6 separate regions of the Homo sapiens genome follow, and regions 1, 2, 3, 4 and 5 are each linked to region 6. Evidence: promoter capture Hi-C in human tissues and cell types (Jung and others, 2019). All regions are on one chromosome and are shown on one strand. Each heading gives the region's core, a stretch centred on a gene start or on the middle of the fragment in contact. The rest is flanking DNA. Distances are from core to core; before and after follow the strand shown.

Region 1 (3,019 bases), core at 77-2,576, 1.3 Mb before region 6:
CTCTGAACCAAACTGCTCTGCTAACATGAGTGGCATCTCTTACCCTCTCTTCCCCCCTTCTCACCTCATTCTGTCTAGATAAATCCCAAAATAGTGTCTTGCATGCCCAGTGTTGTATAGGGTTTCTAGAACACCACCACCTCTTTGGTTTGTATTTGCATCTCTGGAACTCTGACTTGAATCCTTGCTTCTGGCTATCCAAATCCCTCAGAGCTTCTAGTCCTTCCATCCTAGGTTTGTATTTTTTGTTGATATATTCACTATATACTATTAACTAAATGTATTGAATGAGGATAAGCTGCTGGGGGACTTCAGAAATTTCCCTCTGCTGTTGTCAAAAGTCTTTCTATTAGCCTCACCCTCATTGGTCAGCACTTCAAATAGTTTGGATGGTGACATTTTCTATTACAACTCTGAAACCATAGAGGAAAATTACACTTAATGGTTTAGTGACTCATGGAAAAGAATACCTGATTATCTTTCCAAAGCCCTTATTTATTTATTTATTTATTTTTTTTTGTTGATCAAGAAGACAACTACTGATTTTTATTGATGAGCTGGATTTTGCCAACTCTGTTCTGGTAATTATCATGACAGCACAAAAAAAGGTAGTTAATATTCTCTGTTTCTAATACATGGTCAATAAGACAATTAATTACCTGCAAGCAAGTTGAGAAGACTTGTCATGTTAGCGTTTTAGTACAGGGAATTAAGCATTATACCAGGAAAAGGAGAAAAATTCAACTAACATGAGCAGTGAAGAAAATAAACTTGTTTTGTAGAAAGAGAAACATTTCAAATCGTCTTATATTTTTTTGGTCATCCATTCATAGCTCCTTGGAGACCTGCTAGAGCATTTTGCTGAATTATTCATTAATTTACTGTCAGAGGTGCAACTAGGATTGCATTTTGTAGCCAGATCAGAGTACTATGCTAATGATTTGGATAGGAATATGCTGAGAGCTGAATATGTCTTAGACATGTGAGAAATCACCATGAAATGTGCCTAAGAAATGATTTAGTATAGCATGTAGCAGTTCTTTCTAGGATTCTATAAGTCTGCTTATTTTTGGAAACACCAAAGAGACTATGGTACCTTTATTAGTCAGGATAGTAGGGCCATTTTGAATTTTTGAGATGAGGGATTTTTAAGTAGGGACTAGACTGCAGGTAACTATTGGGGGGCTGGGAAGTGAAGTTTTGCAAGAGACAGTCAGAGGAGTCACTAACCAGTCTTCCTGGTGTACTAGCATGAGTGGACAAATTAGAATTTGCAGGGAAATCTGCAAAGCAAAGCATGTCTGGCTGCTGAAATGAGACTGTGAAGGAACAGCTCACAGAATGGTCCATAGGAAGCATCTGCCTCTGTATAATTACTTCCTCCATGCAGCCAAATGTTAGGTGGCCAGCAGAACCAATGACTGGGAAGACAAGCTGGTTGAGGGGAAAAGAGTTGAGATCTAGCAGACACTTCTGTGTATGCCCATAATAGTGTCTTACCACAAAGACTTCTGAAAGTAATAGCTCCATTTCATGTCTGCCTTCCAACCTTGTGCAAATTCCTCTTTGGCAAACTCTAACTCAGAAATATACAAAGAAGGGAAGACTGGGAAATGCAGTTCCCAGTTTAATCAAGTTGACACAGCAAGATCCAACAAACTCTTTCAGCCATAATGGTGCTCTCATCTTTGTCCAGAGGATGGAATATAATGGAAAGAGTTCCGTTATTCACTTCTACTACACTTGAAGCTCCAAAAGGAGATGTTCGGGTACACCTGTTTCATAATGGTAACCCCTAACAAACAGCTATTATAATGCCTGCCTCAGAGTAGTTGCATAAATACATATTGAATGAAAATAATTGACTCTAATTCAGAAGTCCTGAGTTCAGTTCTGTTTCTGCCATTGTGTCAGGTCTGTTGGCTGTCAGTTTGGTGCTTGACCTCTAAATCTCCTTTGTATTGCATATATGGAAGTTTGAAAGCCATATTTCCTGGAAACCTTTGACTCAGCCAGTGGGAGAGCTTGTATAAGATCATAAGGTGGGAGGAATAGATAAGCTGTTTCTGTTTTTGTTTATTCCTTCTTCTGGCTTCAACAGCTACAGGAGCAATAGCAAGTGACTGTGGGCTCTTGAAGAGAAATAAACTAGTCCAGAAGCTTTAGCAAAATGGCTGGCTCCAGGTTTCCTGTCAGGAGGCACTTGGCTCCCATATTTCTGCTTAGTGCTGCAGTGTTCATTGACTCTGGAAAGCACCACTTTTTCTTGTGTTCCTCAAACCCTAGGGATGGGAGTTGTTTCTGTCATTACTGATTACCTTCTTCTTTCTTCTCCATTAGCCCTTTCAACACTTTAGTAACCAATTCCTTGCATTAAATCACCTTAAATTGAAGTAATGAGTGTGGTTGCTGTTTCTCTGGCTGGATCCACATTGAAGCAACATTCTACTAGCTTTGGAATCTTCAGCATTTAACTCTCAGTTACCTGGAAAATGATGGTGATACTTTCCATGCCATTGCAAAAGTCCAAAGCAACATTATTGATAAAGGTGCCCTGAATACTATAAACTATTTTGCATGGATAAATTATTATCAGATAACACAATTTTTCGGGAGGGAGAGTAGTATAGTGTTTGAATGCATGGGCTCTGCCTAGGTTCATATTCACTTTAGCTACTGACCAACTGAGAGTTCGGGTAAATAGCATACTTCTTCAAGCCTGAGTTTTCTTATGTGTAAAAGGTAATAATAGCACTTATTTCATGAAATAGGGGGTACTAAATGAGATGTCACATGTAAAGTGATCAACTTAGTGTCTGACATATTGTAAATGCCTGTCATTATTATTATTGTTATTATTCTACGTAATTGGAGTGGGCAGTGACTAGTGTACCTGGGGGAGAGCTGTAAGATGGATCTAAGGGAGAACTAGCAGAGAATTTGAACAAACGATATAGAATAGGTTAACATAGAACCAATTTACTCTTGTAATCTAACAGACAAAACAAATGAATCAACT
Region 2 (3,221 bases), core at 550-3,049, 1.0 Mb before region 6:
AGGGGCTTTCCTGTGAATCAGCTCCAGGAAGATGAAAAGCCAAGTGTGGTCTAGTTTATTAAGTGAAACCCATAGCTGTGAAATAAAGCCTGAGGATATAGAAGTAAAAGGGTGAGCAGCTGTGAAGTGAGCTGCCAGGTAGGAATCGATAGAGATTGTCTTGTCGGGGCTGACCCCCATCCTGGGAGCCCAATGAAAGTGAGGTGGGGAAAGTGCTGAACCACCAGTAAGAGGAATCTGAGTTATAGCTCTCTGTAGAAGTAGCAAAATAAATTGAGTTTTTAAAAGAAGAACACTCTAAGTTCTACAATAAATTTTAATGCAATAAAGAATATTTGGATGGAAAATATTAATGTAAATGTACCAACAATATATCCATCATTATTGGAGATGCAAAATTTTCAGGTGTTTTTGTTTGTTGCTTGCTTCAAATGAAGCAATAGAAGAGATGAGCACAGTCCCTGGCATGTGGCAGGCACTTAAATAATTTTTGGATAAATAGGTGAGCAATGTAAGAGCCTTATTACCGTATTTTTGCAGTTTCTGATAGTTTTGGAGGAGGTATGATTATAAGTACAGAGGTTCTGTGTTTTTGAAAAAAATACAACAACCAAAAACTTGATGTTCTACAAAAATTTCCACTAGAACTAAGAGGATCTAATGGGGCAAAGAGTGAGGGTGAGGGGAGACCATTCCCACCAGTGCAACTTTGTGACCACAGCACTACACAGAAGAGTAACTGGTACTTTGGTAGAAAACACATCACTCAGGCAGGCAGTTCAGTATGGCTAGAGGATGGCACAGAGGATACTAAAAATGTACAAAAAAAAATACAATGAAAATGTTACAGGAAAGGGGTTTGGATCCAGACCCCAAGAGAGGGTTCTTGGATTTCGCACAAGAAAGAATTCAGGATGAGTTTGCAGTGCAAAGTGAAAGCAAGTTTATTAAGAAAGTAAAGGAATAAAGAATGGCTACTCCAAAAATCGTTGCCCATTTTTATGGTTATTTCTTGATGATACGCTAAACAATGGGTGGATTATTCATGCCTCCTCTTTTTAACCATATAGGGTAACTTTCTGAGATTGCCATGGCATTTGTAAACTGTCATGGTGCTGGTGGGAGTGTAGCTGTGAGGATGACCACACGTTACTCTCGTCCCATGTTAGTTTTGGTGGGTTTTGGCCGGCTCCTTTTCTGAAACGCGTTTTATTAGCAAGGTCTTTATAACCTGTATTTCATGCTGACCTCCTATCTCATCCTGTGACTTAGAATGCCTTAACCATCTGGGAATGCAGACTAGTAGGTTTCAGCCTCATTTTACCCAGCTCCTATTTAAGATGGAGTTGTTCTGTTTCACGTGCCTCTGACAGAAATACTAGTAGCTCTTAATTAGCATAGAGGCAGGTAGATAGATAGAAGTAGAACTCTAAACCAGAGGGGCTGCTTTGAAGGTGTTCTTTCTGGGGAGTGCAACCTCTCATCAGGCACAGCAATACAAAGCTTGAGTGTTCCTTTTGGAGGAGGGATGCCCTGGTGCAGGACTTATTTATAATTTTATTAAAATGGAACGGAAAGGGTTTCAGCTGCCTGAGCAGCATAGGCTGAAGTCTTTATTCTTCATTGCTGAATGTTCGGTTTCTACTCTTGATTTTCTACTTCCCCTTGCTTATAAAAAATCATGTATAAACCAGATTATGTCCATATTATTCTGACATAGTTTCTCTATTTTCCAATTGTTTATGAGCTGATTAGTGTTGTAGAAATACATTCTGCAGCAGAATAATCTGCTCAGTAATTTGGAATTTTGTGAAGAATGAATTGGACCCCAGACTGTTAGATCTTTGGAGATCTTAATAGCCACTTACCAGGTTCCATTTTATAAGTAAGGAAACAGAATTAGAGAAATACATGTTTTGTTCAAGGCGCTACAGCAGGGATGTCCAATCTTTTTGGCTTCCCTGGGCCACATTGGAAGAAGAAGGATGGTCTTGGGCCACTCATAAAATACACTAACAATTGCTGATGAGCTAGAAAATAAAAATAGCAAAAACAAAACAAAACAAAACAAAAACCAACTAATAATGTTTTAAGAAAGTTTACAAATTTGTGTTGGGCTCCATTTAAAAGCATCCTGGGCCATATGTGGCCCTCAGGCCGCAGGTTGGACAAGCTTGTTGTATATTAATTTAGTATTTTCTAAGTAAAAAACAGTTTAAAAGTCATAACCTTGAGAGTGCATTGTAAATTTATGACAGGTGATAGAAATAACAGAATTTTAAGATGTCTTTTAAGTAGTTTAACAGCATTTAATAATTACAATTATATCACACATAAACATTCTGCTATTTTGGGTGGGTTTATGGAGTGTCAAAGCTAAAATTGCACTGAACAATGTTAAACAGACAAGGAAGACTTCATTCCAGGCTATTGCAATAGGGAAGAGAGGCCAAAACTCAATCTCACCTCATCTCCATAGAAACAAAGCGCTAAAGAGTTTTTAAGGGCTGGAGTGAGGGAAATTATAGGCTGCCTCTGTTTGCTAACTGGTCTCACCCAAAGGAAAAGTAAGCTTTCTCATATCTTTATGACAAGAGGTAGCTTTACAACTCGGACCAAGGCTTCCATCCTTTCACAAGGATGGGCTCATAGTTTGGCTCCTGCCCTCCTACAGAGATACCTTCCCTGATGATTATATTTCACAGGGAAGGCTCCCACATCTTTGAGAAAGGACATCCTGGGCTGTAAAGCTAGCAAGAGGCTTTTTAGAAGATTTACATCTCAAAGAGGCAAAGAGAGAATTTACACTTAGAAGTTTTCTAAAGTAAATGCTGTAAAGAAAAGGAAGGTCAGGAGCCTAGCATCAGGAAGAAGCCTGTCTAAAGCTTAGTCAAGCTGAGGGAAATGTTAAAGCTGTCTGGGTTAGGCATTTTATCTACCACTCCTTTCAATGGCCCAACGTTAACTCACATTTTTGAGACTGTGATAAATTCTCATTGTTTTTATTCTATCTCCCTCTTCAATATCAGGTCTAATATGACATGTATTTATTTGTTACTTTAAAGAAATTTGATGCTCTTATGCTTTGCTGGCAGGAGGGCAAATTGATATAATCCTGTGTGAAAATAATTTATCAATAAGCATCAAAAGCTTGAAAAACCTTCATACTCCTAGACTTTTTAACTCCACTCTAAGAAATAGTTGTATAGAAATAATCGGAA
Region 3 (2,886 bases), core at 20-2,519, 1.2 Mb before region 6:
AGGTTATCATCTATCAACTAATACCTGTGTAAAGACTGCCAAAATATAACTATCTAAATTTTTTTTCTTCTCCTATACTTTGTCATGTTTTATTTCTACTCTTGAATTTGAGAGAATGTTTTACAAGTCTTACTCCTTTTGTAGTTTCACTTACTTTTTTGCCAAACTTGACAGTTATCTCTAGAGACCTCAACCACAGAATCCATGATAAAGACATGGCTGAATGGTTCCTCACTGACTTGCCTCATCCAATAAAATGTTTTGTTTCTGAGACAATTGGGTCAGTATGAAATACCTGGGAATACAATACGTCTATGAACGGCTCTTAAGTAGTTTATATAGTTACGCTATTTGCCAAACACAAAATATCCATTGTTAGACCTTAACTGCTGTGTTCTTTTTGTTAATTCAAAAGCAGATGTTTCTTCTTTTTTTAAACTCATCTATTTCTGCCCTTTCATTTCTAAGTTTATTCTTTCATCTGGCCACCATTGCCATTCTGATAGCTGTTTACACTGATAAGAGACCATCTGCTTGTCTTTCATGACTGAGGGAAAGAAGTAGGAAAACTACATTTCCATTCTTCAGAGAGTATTTTGTTTTGCTAATTACTTAAAAGCACTAAGGAAATGTATCCATTTGGCTTAATATTTTTGAGGACAAAAAATAAAGAGGTTAGAAAAATACAGTAGCATTTGTAACATCAAAATCTTTTAATTAAACATCTGTATTTATGAGAATAATGAAATGTTTTTTTTAGGATATCACCCCAAGTATCCTGGGACATGAGAGATTCATGGAAATGGTTCAAATAATTTCAATAATTCAGTGTTATTGAAATGTGAATTGATGTGCACATGTTTAGTCAATGTAATCAAATTTAAATAGAATAATGTACAAATGTGAAAAATCCCAGTTGTCTGCCTATCTGCTAAAAGTTGCCTTTTGTACTTTGAAGTGTGTGTGTGGGAGAGTGGTTGTACATGAGCAGCCCTCCTTCTTTGAGAACCTTCCCTCCCTGTTTCCTAGTTACATTTACATTACTTGACCCTGCATCCCTCCCTACCCTATTCCCTTGCATAGGGACATATGGTAAGGGTGGAGAGATACCTGATTTCATTCAGGTCAACCATTAGATTCTCCTATCAAAATTTCTACTCTAGAGATCAAGTCTGAAGCTGAGCACTGGGTTGTTACTAGCAGATTAAAAAAAAAGATGTTGGGGAAATATAATTAAAAATAAAATCTCCCATATCAGAAAACCTGTCCACTAAAGTACTATAGAAAAACAATTTTATTATTGAATAAGCTTTAAACCAGCATGTGATTCATATCACAGGCAATATGTTAAGAGATTACAAAGACAGAAAGAAATGTCACCCTTACATATAACCAAACTATAATCCATTCTATACATTCCATACATGTTCTCATGATAAACAGTAACTAGTCTCTAAGAGGACTTGATTGTACCATTTGTCACATAGAGTTCATTCTAAATTCACCTAGTAATTAGCGTGACCATCTGTGTTAGATAATTGGCTTTATCTAAAGGAAAAATAAGCTTCTCTTAATTTTATGCCAAGAGGTAGTTTTGCCACTTTGAGCAAGGTATCCACTGAAGTTAATTCCCACTCTTCCACAGAAACTGGGAAATAGGGGCCTATTCTTTTTGATGTTTACATTTCACAGAGATGGCTCCCAGTCCTTGAGAAATAACTTCATGGCTCATAAAACTGATTAAATGCCAATTTTAATCTTCAAAAGGATTTAAATACATTCCAGAGAGAAGAGAAAGTGCTAACAATTAATAGTTTTCTGAGGTAAATGCTCTAAGAAAAAGGAAGAGAGGGAAATCTCTTCACTTATTTTCAAGGGAGAATTAAGTCAGTCTCTCTTTTTAAAATATTTGATGGATTTTATTGTAAAAATGGAAGTTCTAGCCAGAGCATTTAGGCAAGAGAAAGAAAGAAAGGGCATTCAAATTGGAAAAAAAGTCAAATTATCTGTTTGCCAGTGATATGATCTTATATTTAGAAAACCATAAAGACTCCTCCAAAAGAGTCCTAGATTTGATAAATGAATTCAGTAAACTCTCAGATTATAAAATCAATGCATGCAAATCAGTAGCACTGCTAAAAACCAACAATGGCCAAGCTGAGAATCAAATCAAGAACTCAAACCTTTTACAATACCTACAAAAATGTAATACACTTAGGATTATCCTTAACCAAGAATGTGAAAGATCTCTATGAGGAGAACTATGAAACACTGATGAAAGAAATCAGAGATGCCCCAAACAAATGAAAAAATATTCCACATTCATGGGTTAAAAGAATCAAAATCATGAAAATTACCATCCTGCCCAAAGCAATCTATGGATTCTATATAATTCCAATCAAAATATTAATGTCATTGTTCACAGAGTTAGAAAAAACAATTATAAAATTCATATGGAACCAAAAAGGAGCCTGAATAACCATAGCAATTCTAATCAAAAAAAACAAATTTGGAGACATCACATTACTTCAAATTATACTACAAAGCTATAGTAAACAAAGTAGCATGGTACTGGTATAATAGTAGATACATACACCAATGGAACAGGATAGAGAACTCAGAAATAAAGCCAAAACTTACAGCCAACTGATCTTTGAAAAAACATACAAAAACATAAACTGGGGAAAGGATTGCCTATTCAGTAAGTGGTTCTGGGAAAATCGGATGGCCATATGTAGAAGAATGAAACAATCCATTTCTCTCTCCGTACACAAAAGCTAACTTAAGATGGATTAGAGGGTCAAATCTAAGACCCGAAACTGTAAAAATTCTGGAAGAAAACCCACAGAATATGGGTTTTTAAAGTGGATTATTAGACTTTTTTTT
Region 4 (3,163 bases), core at 659-3,158, 1.2 Mb after region 6:
AACCTTAAAACCTCCAGTTCGCAGCCTCATGGTGCTACAAGGCAATTTTGTCTTAGTTTTTTATAACCTCTTGTATCAAAGATAAACGCTGATTAATTGTTGTATCTGGAGCCAAAGGCACATAGATACCTCCTACAAGCTTCAGGCAGCCCAAGTTATAGTGAGCTACCTTTGTTCCCCCAGCAATTATGGTTGCCTTTTTTTTTTCTTAATCCCTCTGGCCCTTTCAGTTCTGATTGTGTTATCCAGCTGTGCAATGAGCCTGAATAATATACTGTCAGCAGTCACTTTTTAAGTTTCTTTATCCACAGGTCTGGGATGTATTTTTTTCAGGGGGTGGTGCAGGATGGGGAATGAAGAGTGTTTTCTAGTAAAGTGTATAAAGGAGTTTTATAGGTACACATTTCTGTTCTTACATAAAAATATGCATGCATCCTGGTAGTAATTATCAAAGTACTTCTGACTTAATTATAATTAAAACATAAGAACTTCCCAACTTTGAATATAATAGACCCTGCGAGCCTGATTTTGCCCTGACTCTGTAGTTTCACACTTAAAGCCACCTACTTTCTCCAAGTCTGTTTATTCCATTAAGAAAATGGCTTTCTAAGATTAGAAAATCAACACAAGATTTTGGAAGACAGAGAAGGGAATCATGACTTGGGCTCTTCAATGCCAAAGTCTCCTGTCTCATCTCAACATACATCCATAGAATGAAATTAAAAGACTGGTTATTAAGTGCTTGTAATACAATCAATTCTGCTCTAAAGTTTCTGGTCCGAAGGAGAACACATGCAATACAATGTTTTTTTCTCTGTTAAGGAAAAGCTTCCCTTATTTATTAATATTTTATTAAAAAGCCCAAGACAGGATGTCTCATCCACAGGAAAGAGAAATTTAGACAGAACATTCAAGCTCAAAGACAGGTCTGCTAGTTATTTACCACACAAGCGTGAACAAAGAGAAATGCCAGCAAATAATAAGCAATACTAAAATTCAATTAGCCTTGGAGTCTGTTAAGTTCCTTTCTCAATTAAGCCCTCTACCTGTGCCTAGTATTCAAACATTTGTAAAGTGAATGAATGAATGAATGAATGAATGAATGTATAAGCAGTTCCTGTGTCTGCCAAAGGCAGTTCTGATCAGCCCCACAGCCCTAGGTATTAACAGCCTGTAGGAGAATTTATATTTATTAAGCTATTTAAACACACATTACTAGAAGTAATTTATTATTATCTTTACCTTTTAGGGGAGAAATCCAAGGTTAAGAAATATGTTCAGGATTATACGCTGCCTAATAAATTCAAAATTGGGATTAAACCCAGTTCTGACTGTTTTCAAAGGTCATGCTACTATAATTCTACCAAGATACTTCTATGATTTCCCAGTAGCTAAGCATGATTTGATGCTGTTCCTGGTGCATTATTTTCTCTAATGATTCAAGATTCCAAGCAGAACTTTGGGCATTTTATGTATGCTACAAGACGTAAAGCCTAAGTATCTGGGGAAGAGAATGTAGAGCTGCTATTAAAGAGGATTTCCAGGCAGATGAATTAAACCAGTTCTTTAAAATGGGTATAATTGATTTTGTGCTGCAATACAGTTGGACATGATTTACAAGTAGGTGACTTTAATGACCATAAATAATTAATACTTTCACGTACAGTCCCACAAAATATTTCAGTAGTTAGCTGTTGGGGGGAAAGTAGGAAATTCAATGGGCAGAAAGCTTTGAAGCTAATAGATTCAGTTGCCTAATCCCAACAGTTCTCTATTTAAGTGTCACCTCCTAGCCAGGTTACAGCTATGGAGATGCACAAACTATTAGGGCTTCTTTCCCCTGTCTGTCCCCAGAGCTCATACATGCAGAATGCTGAGTGGTCAGACCCAAATTGTTTGCCCCCTATTGGCTGAAATTGTAACATGTAGAAATTAATTTTGTTTAATAAGTATCCCTCATAAGGTAGGAGATATCACCTAGTTAAAACTTAGAAAAGATTCATTCAAGCAGCTCCATCTGAACACCTTGTTGGGATGCATACACTGTAAATGTGGTAGTTCTAATGGATGAAGAAGAATGTATGAAATTTAGGGAGAGAAGGGCAGAGCAAGAGGATGTGACACAAGGGTAGCTAGAGGGCAATGAGAAGTTGAGGGGCTCTAGGTTTCTTCTCCAACCCTGGCAATGACATCAGTCTTGCATATGCATTAATGCTAAAGTAGGAGAATTAATTCAGTATAAAAATAACTATAATGGCATTGTTTAGGTGAGAATATATGTATATTGGGTTTGAGCCAAGTAACTAGTATGCTGCCCAGATAATAGACCCTTCAGTCTCACTCTCAAGGGCAGCAGTTGGGGGAAGGAGTTGTTTCTAGGGCAGCTGGAGCGCTGATGTGATGGGCATTGGAATACACTGAGCTAGAGCATGGGCTTTGCAGTCAGGAAAATATGGCTCTGCTAGTTTAAATGCTATGTAATCTCAGTTAGGCAAGTTAGCATCTCTAAATATTTCAATTCCCTTCCTGTGGGAAAAAAAATGAATACTTTCATTGTGTCATACCCATTAAATAGTGTTAGATCTGTGAAAGGCTTAGCAGAGTTTCAGACTCATAGCAGGTGCCTAAGGAGAGAGAATTAGCTAATTAAAAGTATTATAAGCATATTACAATTATAATACACTAATGAAGTATAAAAGTAATCTAGTCGTTCATATATTCTTTGACTTTTTGCCACGTAAAACTATAAGACAGATCTGAGAATTGCCCTGAGAGATAACTCAGCATGCTGTGAAAATGAAACAAATTGGTATAGGTTGATAATCTCCCTGAAAAAAAGGATTCCCAAGCACCATAGGTGAGAAGGGCAGTGTAAATGTCAGTCATGCTTCTAGAGCAGTGGGTCCCAGAAGGATTAGGATGTTACTGTCTCTTCCCTCAATATTACTAAACAACATCCAAAACGTCTACCAAAGCAGGGAGTCTGTGAATGCTCCTACCAATGACCATGTTAAAAGTCTTGCCAGCAGCTCTCCTGAGGACCTAAGTTTCACCCAAGTCATTGGGAGTTAATTATATGGGTGTAAAAGGTTAAAGGCCATCTTAAAATTCTTGCTAGCAGCTCTCCTGGGGACCTAAGTTTCACCCAAGTCACTGGGAGTTA
Region 5 (2,979 bases), core at 240-2,739, 1.6 Mb after region 6:
AAAAAAAAAAGTACTGTGCTCTTAAAAAGATAACTACTTTTGTCTCCTACCATTATAACTAATCTGAATTATATATTGATTCTACTAACTCGACCTAATAATATATACCTTAATATGGAACTTTCGTAAAAATAAAATTCCAATGAGCTAATTGGCCTACATAAGGTGCAATGTGCACAATCCCTCATTATACATGACTTTTTCACTATTAAAACTACTACTAAGAAAAAAAATCTATTTTTTTCTTTTTGAATGCAGATGTACATAATATGAAGTTCTCTAATACCACAGTAACTAAAAAACCTTTTCATTTTCAAAAGCTCTTTACCAAGAGGCTATTAACTACTAGTGAACTCAAACAACTCACCAATGCTGGGTGGGCTACCATAGTTAACTGGTGACTCAGGTGGTCTTCCACAGTGCAACGCAGCCAGAGCAGATCCTTTCCACACAACATGCTTGCAGCCTATTAAACACATGTATTTTTATGCATACAAAGAACACAAAAACAAAAGTGAGATAAATAATGTCTAAATCCTATGAGAAAATTTTCATACTTTTATTTGTGCGTAGTAAAGACTGTCTTCCAGCTCCTAATAAAGTTTGTACTCCAGGAACACTTTGAGGAATTTCTTGTTCAAGAAGAGGTCCTAGTCGATGACATATTTGCAGCAAGTGATCAGGTGCTAAGTGTCTGTAATACTTCACCTATTATGTAAAAGACAAATATAGTAGGTTTCAGTTTATCATTTTAATTTTCAAAATCTTTGAGCAACAATAAAAAAATTCATCCAAGTATAAAATATTTTGTTTTGCGTCTTTGATGTAAAGTAAATCTCCAGAATAATTAAGAATTAAGAACTGATAGTTTGTTATTAAAAAATTTAAGAACACTTAACATCTATGCTGAATTTCATAATTTACCAAAAACCTTACAGAGAGAAAGGCAAAATTCCAACTGCTGCTTTAAATATCTTTCAATCATAAAATAAAGCTACCCACTATAAAAAGTTTGAGCACTTTTGGAACAACTTCAAAATACTGCTTAATTTATACCGGCATTTGAAACCATGACATGAAATGCTAATATTTTTATTAGTCTTTCAGTAAATAAACAATATTCACTATCTAAATAAAATTATATTGGAAAAAAATACTATTGTATTACTTCATAATTAGCTATCAAGTTAGAAAAAAATTTCCACAGTAGTATCTAGTTCAGCTATTCTCAAAGTATGTTTTGGGAACCCCTGGAGGTCCCTCAGATAAAACTTATGAATAACACTATATTAGTTGTTTTTCACTTTTTCTCATGAATGCACGGTGGAGGTTTCCACAGGACACATAACATGTGATGTCTTAACAGACTGAATGCAGAAGCAGATAGGAAAATGTCTCCTCTATTAAGCCAGATATTAAAGATTCACAGAAATGTAAAACAATGCCACGCTTCTCACAAATTTGTTTTGTTTGGGAATAATTATTATAAAAATGTTACTTATATTAAAATAAGATTAGTTTATTAGTATTATTTAATAGGTCTCCAATATGTTAAATGCTAAGTTTCTAATATGGTAAATACCAATAGATTATAAGCTACACAAATAAAGGAACTTCAATACATTTTAGTAAGTGTAAAGGGGTCCTAAGACCAAGAAATTTGAAAATTGTTCCTCAAGTTTACCAAGTAATGGCAACTTTAACATGAATTCCTTTTGATAAGACTGATGTGGGGGGAGGTGAGGATTTAAATCATCTCATTCCATCTTGCAATATCTGCTATACTCTTAACTGCAGAAATCCATGAATGATATGTTTTTAAAGGTAGCTAATACCCATCTAAACTGAAGCCAATAGGAGAAACCTACCTTACTCTTTATCAAAATACACTCCTTCTTTCACAAAGATAACATGGAGCCATACTGCCACCAAATAATCTTTGGTAAGATTATTTAAAACAGCAGTTTGGCATACAGTAGGTGATAAGCCAGTAAAATGAGTATTTTTGGAAAAAGGAGTTCTAATACAGTTTGTATCATATGAATTATACATATTACCTCCTTGTTTTGCAGTCAAAAAGCACACTGACATTGAAGTCTCTGAAAAATCCTGAGATTATTTCCCAAACTCATTTAGCTACAGAATCCCTTTTTTCCCTAATAATATCTATCATATTCACTCAGAACATACTTTAGGAAACACTAGTATGATTAGCTAAATTAAAAAGCATTTAAAAGAAAACTTACCAAAATGAGTTTTTAAAATCGTATACTTTTCTTTAATCTTCCCCAAAATAATTTACTCAAAAATAAAATTTAGAAGTCTAGAATACTTGTAAGGTTGCTTCCAGTTCTAAGCTTGCAAATGATTATTTTAATGTGACTTAATTGATCAAAATTCCTTTTAAAAATTTTACTTTAAAGAAGATGGAAGTTCATTACTTATTAACTTCAGATGTGTGATGATCCTGTTTTAGTATCCTCTGGCAAAATATATTTTCAGGTAGTGAAACTGAAAATCCTTACTGTAATATTCTATCTTTCAATAAAATATTATGAATCCACTCTGACTCAAGCTTTCTTTGGTGATTTAGAATGTTTGAATTTTTCAAAATCAACTTTCATTTTAAAGTTAGAAGAGATACTTCCAGTTCTTAAATTCCTTGTGCTTTCTCTGGCTTTTGAGACTTTATACAAGCTGATGCCTCTGCTGGCAATCTTGTCTTACCTGCTCACCTCTACACCTCATTCTCCTTCATGTCTCAGTCTATGTCTCACTCACTGCCTTCCATGACCTATTTACACCACCTGTGCCCCTTTTTGGACACTTTGTGTTCCCACAGCACATTATACTCCTCGAATGTCCCTTCATCCCTCTAGCACTGTGTAGTACTTACCATATTAATTGTTCTTAATATATTTTGATACTTAGACTTTTAAGAATCTAATGACAGCTACGATCTTCTTCCCTGCAAAAATA
Region 6 (2,998 bases), core at 430-2,929:
TGCCAGGCTGTATGTAGATCTGTCTCAGACAGGCTTCAGACAACAATTACAAGTACACTGCTTCTAGTGGGCATTATCCACGATACCAAAGCAGGGCAGGGATTCCCTTCCATTATCAATTTTTAAAAGTTGCAACCCCCTTTGGGATTGGCTGCCGCAGGGTCAGTGCTGAGCCCGGGGCTTGAGGGGAGGAAGTGAGCCTCCTCCTGGGCAGGGAAGCTCTACATTTAGTTTCAACACTTCTCCTTTCAGAGCTCTCTCTCAGGACTATTCTGGCTTCTCAGGATCCATTGCCCTTGCCCAGGAGAGAGAGCCTCGCTGGGACCCAGAAACCGCGAAAGAAGATTCGACCTACCTGTGGAACCAGACACAACTTGGTCCCCAAAGGTCGCTTAGGCGACCCCACTGCAAACGGCAAGTCAACTTGTGCACTTAAAACGTATCAGTTTATGGAATGCTTGTTTAAAGTCCTCATTGGACATGGTATAGATTATGGGGTTGATGAGGGAGTTGAGATAGCCCAGCCATGTGAAGAAGTCAAAGATGGCTAGGTGGAACCAGCAGGCATCTTTGCAGATAGGCATCACTAGGGAGATGATGAAGAAGGGTAGCCAACACACAATAAAGGCTCCCAAAATGATCCCTAGGGTCTTGGTGGCTTTGCGCTCCCTAGCGGCCATGAGTTTCTTCTTTTCCAGCAGGGCGTCGGAGACTCGCACTTTGACTTGGTTCACATACACAGGAGATCCGGATTCGCTGGGCACGTCGGGAACCCGCGAGTTAATAGAGGTGACCGAGGACGTGGACCCGGGGGAGTCGGTTATCAGCTGGGCTCGGGTCAAGCGCTTGCCGGTCCTGTTGGGCGTCTGTTTCAAAATCCGGGAGCGGGCTTCTACGTAGATGCGGCCATAGAGGGCGATGAGGAGCAGGGTGGGGAAGTAGAAAGCACCCACCGTGGAGTAGACCGTGTAGAGGATGTGGTCGGTGTTCACCACGCATTCCGACACCTCCTCTTCGGCCTTAGCCTGACGCCAGAAGAAGGGCGGCAGCGAGATAGAGATGGAGAAGACCCACACCAGCGCGATCATGACCGCCGCCCTCTTGGGAGTCCTTTTAGCTGAGTACTCCACGGCGTCCGTGATGGCCCAGTAGCGGTCCAGGGCGATGACACAGAGGTGCAGGATGGAGGCAGTGCAACAAGTGATGTCCGACGACAGCCAGAAGTCACAGACCACCTGGCCCAGTGTCCAGCGGCCGGTGACAGTGTACATGGTGCTGATGGGCATCACCAGGATGGACACAAGCAGGTCGGTGACCGCCAGAGAGGCGATCAGGTAGTTAGCCGGGGTGTGCAGTTTCCGGGTCCGGTACACTGTGGCAATCACAAAGGCATTGGAGAGCGTGGTGGCCAAGGTGATGAGCGCCAATAGCATAACCAGCAGTACTTTCCAGGGTAGGGAGATGGAGTCCTGGTAAATGTAGTCCTTGGCGCTGCAGTTTTGGGAGGGAGCAGAGGATAAGTTGGCTTGAGGAACCCAGGTCTCGGAGCCCGCGGGCGGCGGTGGAGCGCACTGAGCACCCGGTTCCTCCATGGCTCTCCTCGCCCCAGCTCCGGAGCGCAGCTCTTGGGCATGGAGCGGACGAAGGAGAGGGCGGAAGGACCGTGGCGATCGCAGGTTTGTCCCCAGTTGATAGTTCCGTGAGTTCCTCAATTATTCCTCCGCCCAGGTTCACAGCTGAAACTAGAGGTCATGGGTGCGGCAGCCAAGGCAGGCGGGCGCCTCCCCTGCACTTCCAGAGCGCCTAGCTAAGCCGCCGCGTCTGTGGTTGTTCCTCTCCACACCGGGTCTTAGACCTGGGTTGCTAAGAGCTGGCCCACCGAGCCCTGCTCCGCTCCAGCTCCCTGGAGGCGTCTAGTGCAGGAGGGTGAAGTACTGCTTGAGGAGAAGGCTTTGACCAAATGGGATCTCTTACCCCAGTTGCTTGAGGCTGAGCGTCTCCTAACCTGGACGCTTTTGGATCTGCAGACTTTGCCCACAGGAGTTTCCTAGGTGTAGAGACCAAAGCTTGCAGGCCAGCGAGAGGTCCCGAGATCTTGCATTCCCACCCCTCGCCCCAAGCTGGGGCACTTTTGGGGGGCTGCAGCGGCCGCCAGAGCTGGGTGGGGTGAAGTCTAGGAGCAGCGCTGCGCCGCGCCTCGCGCCGGAGCTCTGCCCTCCCTCTCTTTTCACTCTCTGGCCACTCGGACGAGCTGCCCCGCGGAGACGGAGCCATAAAAGGGGGGACACGGGGGCTGGAGTTGCGGCTGCTCGGGCCGCGCCGCCGCCACCGCCACCCTGGTCCCACGGGAGCCACTCGGAGCCATGCCACTGGGTGCGCGGGTCTGGAGGACCTGGCGCGGCACACTGGGAAGGGGCAGGTGTCTGGGGGAGCTGGAGGGACGCGGCGTGCACCAGCCCGGGAGAAGCGTGCGAGCTACGGAGCAGATGGGCTCTTTATATAGAGTCCAGGTCCGGTCCGCCAGAGCAGTGCAACTCGTGCGGCGCGGCGGGTGCGGACGCCCGCTCCCCATCACCTTCCCTTTTTCTCTCTCCCTCCCTCTTTTCCCCCCGCCCTGTTCCTTTCCTGGCCAAGGAAGCTCCCGCCGGGTCCTACCGCCCTATCTCCCCGCTTCCCACCCTGGGCCATCCTCCCAGCCCTGACAACCTGGAGCTGCATTTCTGGTCAGGGGAAGAAGGCGTCCTGTTCTCGCCTCTACGGACATCAGAGCTTGCTGCGCTGACCTCCAGTGAGACCCATGTCCTTAGCCATGGTCACAGGTTTAGTCCAGCAGTCTGGCCCTAGGCTCCTGCCTACCACTCCCACCCTAGGAGGCCAGTGTTAGGCGGGGAAGCCCTGGTCTCTGACCTCTCCGCTCTAAAATCATATCCAGCCCTGATGGCCACACCCAGGTTAGGAGGCACCAGTAATATCGCTGTAGAGGGCCCAATGTTTGCAT

What was found. Contacts are between HindIII fragments. The study calls those that stand out against the background at their distance.
Region 1: a fragment that was not itself captured here is called in contact with the fragment with the promoter of HTR1B in region 6 in 1 of the 25 tissues and cell types used here (dorsolateral prefrontal cortex).
Region 2: a contact is called between a fragment that was not itself captured here and the fragment with the promoter of HTR1B in region 6, in 1 of the 25 tissues and cell types used here (dorsolateral prefrontal cortex).
Region 3: a fragment that was not itself captured here is called in contact with the fragment with the promoter of HTR1B in region 6 in 1 of the 25 tissues and cell types used here (dorsolateral prefrontal cortex).
Region 4: a fragment that was not itself captured here is called in contact with the fragment with the promoter of HTR1B in region 6 in 1 of the 25 tissues and cell types used here (dorsolateral prefrontal cortex).
Region 5: a fragment that was not itself captured here is called in contact with the fragment with the promoter of HTR1B in region 6 in 1 of the 25 tissues and cell types used here (dorsolateral prefrontal cortex).

The regions. Positions count from the first base shown.
Region 1 is chr6:76,144,610-76,147,628 of GRCh38, forward strand. No RefSeq gene overlaps it. Among named protein-coding and RNA genes, the nearest start is that of IMPG1, 73 kb to the left of the region's middle. The HindIII fragment of the contact is 7,348 bases long and covers 1-3,019 here.
Region 2 is chr6:76,420,259-76,423,479 of GRCh38, forward strand. No RefSeq gene overlaps it. Among named protein-coding and RNA genes, the nearest start is that of LINC02540, 170 kb to the right of the region's middle. RefSeq lists an enhancer at 2,433-3,016. The HindIII fragment of the contact is 3,289 bases long and covers 156-3,221 here.
Region 3 is chr6:76,268,330-76,271,215 of GRCh38, forward strand. No RefSeq gene overlaps it. Among named protein-coding and RNA genes, the nearest start is that of IMPG1, 200 kb to the left of the region's middle. The HindIII fragment of the contact is 4,199 bases long and covers 1-2,886 here.
Region 4 is chr6:78,690,159-78,693,321 of GRCh38, forward strand. No RefSeq gene overlaps it. Among named protein-coding and RNA genes, the nearest start is that of MIR10524, 150 kb to the left of the region's middle. The HindIII fragment of the contact is 3,957 bases long and covers 1-3,163 here.
Region 5 is chr6:79,060,111-79,063,089 of GRCh38, forward strand. PHIP (PHIP subunit of CUL4-Ring ligase complex) reads right to left here. Exons shown (of 40, transcript NM_017934.7): 5 at 558-708; 6 at 368-466. All of the region lies in intron 1 of LOC124901346 (a long non-coding RNA gene), which reads left to right. Among named protein-coding and RNA genes, the nearest start is that of PHIP, 17 kb to the right of the region's middle. The HindIII fragment of the contact is 3,531 bases long and covers 1-2,979 here.
Region 6 is chr6:77,461,812-77,464,809 of GRCh38, forward strand. It overlaps HTR1B (5-hydroxytryptamine receptor 1B), which reads right to left and starts at 1,680. Exons shown (of 1, transcript NM_000863.3): 1 at 1-1,680. The coding sequence starts at 1,592. The coding sequence ends at 420. The region is part of intron 5 of LOC105377864; the gene reads left to right. RefSeq lists a silencer at 546-690. The HindIII fragment of the contact is 6,434 bases long and covers 1-2,998 here.